Linked DNA regions of Homo sapiens: region 1 is linked to region 2. The links are contacts of gene promoters, found by promoter capture Hi-C in blood cells and fetal thymus (Javierre and others, 2016). All regions are on one chromosome and are shown on one strand. The core of a region is centred on a gene start or on the middle of the fragment in contact, and the rest is flanking DNA. Distances in the headings are between cores, read along the strand shown. Region 1 overlaps LARP4 (La ribonucleoprotein 4). Region 2 holds the start of GPD1 (glycerol-3-phosphate dehydrogenase 1).

Region 1 (3,259 bases), core at 385-2,884, 330 kb after region 2:
GCTTTTTTAGTTGTTGCAGTGGAAGCTCCTACTTGTCATGATCCATCACATCCTACTCAGGACTGTGATATAGTTCGAACCAGCTGGGTAATTGACATTTGTAGCTCAGCAAAATTGCCATTAATACATATCAGGTATTACTCATGAATAATCAAATCTTAGATGTTATATCCATTAATTTGATTTACTTCTGACAAGGTACAGTTTCTTTAGCTAAGAGTTGAATCACTGTTTAAGAATAGACCTGCTAAATTTCAGAGTTCATTTAGGCTACAGCTTTTTAGTTTTGCAAAAATTATGTTTATAGTTGTCTTATTTTCAGATTCTTAAGGAATATCTTTTTTTTTTTTTTTTGAGATGGAGTTCTCACTCTATTGCGTAGGCTGGAGTGCAGTGGCACGATCTCGGCTCACTGCAACCTCTACCTCCCGGGTTCAAGCGATTCTTCTGATTCAGCCTCCCAAGTAGCTGGGAGTACGGGCACGCACAACCGTGCCTGGCTAAGTTTTGTGTTTTTAGTAGAGACGAGGTTTTATCATGTTGGCTAGGCTAATCTCAAACTCCTGATATCAGGTGATCCACCCACCTTTGCCTCCCAAAGTGCTGGGTTTACAGGTGTGAGCCACCATGCCTGGCCTCTATTTTAATAGAATGTAAAAGTAAGGGCCTTTGAGCCTGCTCCTTGCCAGGCACTAGGCAGTTGAAATACATTATTGATTGAACAGCAGCGATCCTTCATGGAACCTATATTCTGACTGTGAGAACACAAAACAAACATAATAAATAAGGAGTATGTTAGGAGATAAGTGCTATGGGAAAAAAATTAAATGCAAGGACAGGAATCAGGAATGCTGGGGTGGTTGCAGTTTTAAATAGGGTGATCAGAACAGTACTCTTTGAGAAGGGGCCTTATAAGCAAAAACTTCCAGCTATTTATAGCCAGACTGCTTCAAAGAATATTTGATGTGAATAGCAAGGTGTGAATTTGATTTTACCTAAGTTTATTAAACAAGATTTTATGTGTAAGATGCAAGTGTTTGCATCTTCTTTTTTTAATGTACCTTAAAGAATCTTTTGTGTTAATATTAAATATATATTTTTTATTTTTCTTTTTTTTTTTTTGTTTATGTTTTGAGATGGAGTTTCGCCCTTGTTGCCCCAACTGGAGTGCAGTGGCGTGATCTCGGCTCATTGCAATCTCCGCCTCCCAGGTTCAAGCGATTCTCTTGCCTCAGCACCCCGAGTAGCACCCACCACCAAGCCTGGCTAATTTTTTGTATTTTTAGTAGAGACGGGGTTTCACCATGTTGGCCAGGTTGGTCTTGAGCTCTTGACCTCTAATGATCCACCCGCCTCGGCGTCCCAAAGTGCTAGGATTACAGGCATGAGCCACCGCACCCAGCCAATGTGTGTATTTATATAAGCATGTTTGACTTAAATAATTTAAAACACGTATTTTGGACAGGGTGCGCTGGCTCACGCCTGTAATCCCAGCACTTTGGGAGGCTGAGGCGGATGGATCACGAGGTCAGGAGATCGAGACCATCCTGGCTAACACGGTGAAACCCCGTCTGTACTAAAAAATACAAAAAAAAATTAGCCGAGCGTGATGGCGGGCGCCTGTAGTCCCAGCTACTCGGGAGGCTGAGGCAGGAGAATTACTTGAACCCGGAAGGCAGAGCTTGCAGTGAGTCGAGTTTGCGCCACTGCGCTCCAGACTGGGCAACAGAGCAAGACTCTGTCTCAGGAAAAAAAGAAACAGAAATGGAAAATCCTTCTTGAGTCAGTTCACAGTTCAGCTACAGTTTTTATCATGCATATTCTAATATCACTGATGAAGTATTTATAAGATGGAACTCTGCTATATGTAATGTTTTGTTAAAGTGCTACTTGTAATATTAAACCTCTTTATGTATCAGTATAATTGTCCAATGTTGTGCTAGATGTGTTTGGGAATTGAGATACTGTAAAAGTTATATTAACTAATGTTTATGTATATATTACATTAGTATCTTTTGAATTGAACTTTTAACAACTTTTTAGAGTTCACTGAAAAGTTTAATGTTATTTCTGATAGAATAATCTTATTTCCATGCATTTAAAAAGTAGGAAAAGTGAGTAAGATACCTCTTGTTAGATGCTTTTTAATAATTGCTTGTTTTATAGGACTATTTTGTTTTTTCAGAGAAAATTTGTCAAAGGATCTTTACTTGATATCTCAAATGGATAGTGATCAGTTCATCCCAATTTGGACAGTTGCCAACATGGAAGAAATAAAAAAGTTGACTACAGACCCTGATCTAATTCTTGAAGTGTTAAGATGTATGTAAAAATACCTTTTAGCTTTTTTTTTAATTTTTAAACGTAAAATGTTATTTCGACTTCTGATCATATAGGGAATTATTTTTACTGCCCCCTCCCCACACCCTTATTTTGTTGTTTTGTTCCGAATTCTCTCTCTTTGTTTTTTTTTTTCGGGGGTTGTGGTGAAAGACAGGGTCTCACTCTGTCACTCAAGCGGGAGTGTGATGGTGCAAATCACAGCTCACTGCAGCCCCAAACTCCTGGGCTCAAGCCATCCTTCTACCTCGTAGCCTCCCAAGTTACTGGGACCCCAGGCGCACACCACCACATCTGGCTAATCTTTAAATTTTTGTATAGAGGTGGGGTCTTGGTATGTTCCCCAGGCTGGTCTTTGTTCTTTGGCTGAGTCAGTCCTCCCACCTTGGCTTCCCATTTTTACTGACTCTGTGTGTGTGTGTGTGTGTGTGTGTGTGTGTGTGTGTGTGTATCCCGCTGGTGTGTGTGTGTGTGTGTGATATGTGTGTGTGTGTGTGTATATATCCCGCTGGGGTGTGTGTGTGTGTGTATGTATATATATATATATATATATCCCGCTACTGACTGGTGTGTGGGGGTGTGTGTGTGTGTATATGTGTGTATGTATATATATATATATCCTGCTCAGCCTCCCAAAATGTTGGAATTACAGGCGTGAGCCACCACCCCCGGCCTATATACAGCTTCTGTAATAATTCTGCACCTTGGTTGTTTATCATCATGCCCACTTAAGAAGTATAAGCAATTAAGTCTCATTTTTCTGGAGTGTTAGATATGTATCGTTATCACACAACCTTTAAGACAATCTCTTTCAAGTTTTTAAACCCAAATAAGAAGTACATTTTTCGTGACAGTTCAATATACACCATATACCTACACCTGACCGAAATATTTGTAACAAACTTGTTTCTAATTTTAC
Region 2 (2,850 bases), core at 16-2,515:
CAGCAACAGCCCAGGGGGATGGCAACACCCACCTAGCCGTCTGCCAAGCCAGGAGGTCAGCACATGAGCACACAGTGGTGTCTGCCCTCTAGGCCAAGGTGCACAGTGTTAGGAGCCTCTTGCTCCACTCTCCAGATCAGCCTGGAAACCAGAGCTTCCCTCGTCTTAGACAAACAGATGGCCGTGGGCGATGCAGAGCCCTGAACTGCTGAGGGTGCTCCTTCCATTCTCGCCCTTCCCCAAAAAACATACACCAAACTTACCCCCAATCACAGCATCTGAGACCACAAAGCCCCACGGACACAGCTGCCCCGGGTACTGCCTGCCTTCCCCTTTTCTGGCCTCTGCAAACTAGCCATTCACCTGATGAAGCCCCTGGGGCAGTACCTTGGAAACCCCTGAGAGGAGGAGTTGAAGGAGGCTCAAAGCCTTTCAAGGACAGTGTGCACTCTGCCTGCCTCCTATTCTCTCCTGTCCTCTTAAGCCCAGAGTCTACAACAAAATTGTGTACCGCAATTCTCAGAGCTCTCTAACTTTAACCTTTCCCACCTTCCCTAGAACACATTTTTGGGTGGGGATCATCTGAGAGGCCCATGGATGAGTCCCCAAGATGACCTCTGTGGGTGACCAAGACAATCTTGTCTTTTGAGGCACCTGGAGTCTCTCATCCTTTTTTGAGCTGGGCTGTCCTCAAAGCAGGCCCTTACCTCTTATGTGGCCTCATCTTTAGAGGTGGGAAGTGGGCCCACATCCCCCACCCCAGCCCTGCAGTGGAGCTAGCGTGGGCCTGCTGGAGGACAGAACTGTGGAACAGGGTCCTGTGAGGATATGTGGCAGGGTTGGCGGGGGGATAGGGGGTCATGGAGGAGCCTACCTCTGAAAAGCATTCCCCTAGCTGCTACTGAAGCTAAATACAATTTATTTCATGCTGGGGGACAGAAAGGAGCAAGGGAGAGCAGTCACCTGCTCCTTATCTGGGCTATTTTCTTAGCAGACCTCAAAATGAGACCATGGTGGGAAGCTGGGCTGGGGCCAAGGGAAGAAGCTTGCCAGCACTGTCAGCCGATGAGCCCAGGAGAAAAAGCTGGGCCTAGTCTCTGCCCCATTCCTGTTCCACACCTGTCTGTACCCCTGTCTCTCCTTTCCCTGGCTCTGCCAGACTCTCTATCTCCCTGGGCGCCAGCCTCCCCACCCACCCCTGGAGGGCGGGGCTTGGCTGCACCCACGTGTGGTGGAGTTAAATGCTCCTAGCCGGCAGAGGAGCTAGGGAGTGTGGCACTGAGCCGGCTCAGGCAGAGACGCGGCACCATGGCTAGCAAGAAAGTCTGCATTGTAGGCTCCGGGAACTGGTAAGCAGCTCTGTCAAGTGATATGGGGGAAGGGTAGGCCCCCCAAGACAGAGGTGGGTAGGAGGCAGAATGGGTGGGAAAGGCCCTCAGGTTCCTGTTCAGCCCCTGCTGCTATCTTCTATCATAGCAGCACAGGACAGACGGTGCCCGGCCCTCTCCTGACCCCCGCCCTCCTGGGCAGCTGCACCTGTTCACCATGGGAAGGCGTCTCCAGAGCTCTCTATGTGAAGAGCCGCTTGAGTTTGGGGGTGGGAAGATGAGAAGTGGGGCTCCCTTCTCTAGTAGCAAAGGGTGAGGAGACTGAGTCTCCTTTCTACTGCCAGGTCACTGGGGACTATTTGTCATGGGAGTGGAGGTGATAAGGAAGGTAGGTAGGAGTGAACAGCCTGGGGGGCTGCTGTGAGATCCTGAGGTGGGGCGCTGCCCCAACTCCTGCCACTGTTCCCTCCTCCTGTACTTTCCTGTGCTCCCCCTCCCACCAGGGGCTCAGCCATCGCCAAGATCGTGGGTGGCAATGCAGCCCAGCTGGCACAGTTTGACCCACGGGTGACCATGTGGGTATTTGAGGAAGACATTGGAGGCAAAAAGCTGACTGAGATCATCAACACGCAGCATGAGAATGTCAAATACCTGCCAGGGCACAAGTTGCCCCCAAATGTGGTGAGCCCCAACACCCTGCGAAGAACAGGGAGAGGAAGGGAGGGCCAGGAGTTGGAGCCGACCTTACTCAACAGGTGCCTCCTGCTGAGAGGGCCGCTTCAGGTGCAGCAGGACTTGGGAAGGTCTCAGGAGGGCTGCTCTGGGCCCTTTCCTGAGGACTGAGGAGAACCTATGCTTTCCCCTCACAGGCTCCCAGGCGGGTGGGTGGGGAAGGGATGGGAGAACAAGTTGGTCTCCATGGCAGCCAAAGACTGGGCTCCCAGACTTGGGGTCCAGTAGTGCCTGCCTCCGGCACTAATCCTGTTACTCATTCACTGAGTGAGTAGCCGACTTGGAGGCTGCTCCTTGGACTTACGGTCTTTGGTCAAATCCACGTGGCTCTCCCCACCTGGAAAGGGGAAGCAGGGAAGAGAGCAGAAAGGCTGGGGCTCCCCCTTCCCAGCTGGGGTTCCTGAGGAGCTGGGTGATGAAATCTTATTTGAGCTCTTTCTTTTGCCAAGCCCAGGCTGCTTTTGGCCTCCCGCACTGTCCCACAGCCAAGGGATAGGAGAGTGCTGGGATGAGGTTTCCAGGAGTCCTCAAGAGCCCAGGACAGCTGGAGGGAGACAGAGTGGTAGCTGGGGGGAGGGAGTAGAGTGTCTTATTCCTCCAAGTTCAGTCCTTCTAGATTCAGTCCCAAACAAGCCTTCCTGCTCCCCTACCAGCCTCACTCTTTGGCTCCCAGATCTCCTGAATAGGGTTCCACAGGGGCTAGGGGAGGTCTGCCAGGCCCGCGAGCACTTGGTCACCCCCACAGGTGGCTGTCCCAGATGTGGTCCAGGCTGCAGAGGATGCTGACATC

Evidence for each region. Contacts are between HindIII fragments. The CHiCAGO score rates a contact against its expected background, and 5 or more counts as called.
Region 1: a contact is called between a fragment that was not itself captured here and the fragment with the promoter of GPD1 in region 2, in 1 of 17 cell types (endothelial precursors). The highest score is 5.2, in endothelial precursors.

What each region holds. Positions count from the first base shown.
Region 1 is chr12:50,433,303-50,436,561 of GRCh38, forward strand. It overlaps LARP4 (La ribonucleoprotein 4), which reads left to right. Exons shown (of 16, transcript NM_052879.5): 5 at 2,186-2,322. Among named protein-coding and RNA genes, the nearest start is that of SNORD133, 22 kb to the right of the region's middle. The HindIII fragment of the contact is 3,407 bases long and covers 1-3,259 here.
Region 2 is chr12:50,102,743-50,105,592 of GRCh38, forward strand. It overlaps GPD1 (glycerol-3-phosphate dehydrogenase 1), which reads left to right and starts at 1,266. Exons shown (of 8, transcript NM_005276.4): 1 at 1,266-1,349; 2 at 1,832-2,009; 3 at 2,806-2,850. The coding sequence starts at 1,309. RefSeq lists an enhancer at 276-325. The HindIII fragment of the contact is 4,893 bases long and covers 1,044-2,850 here.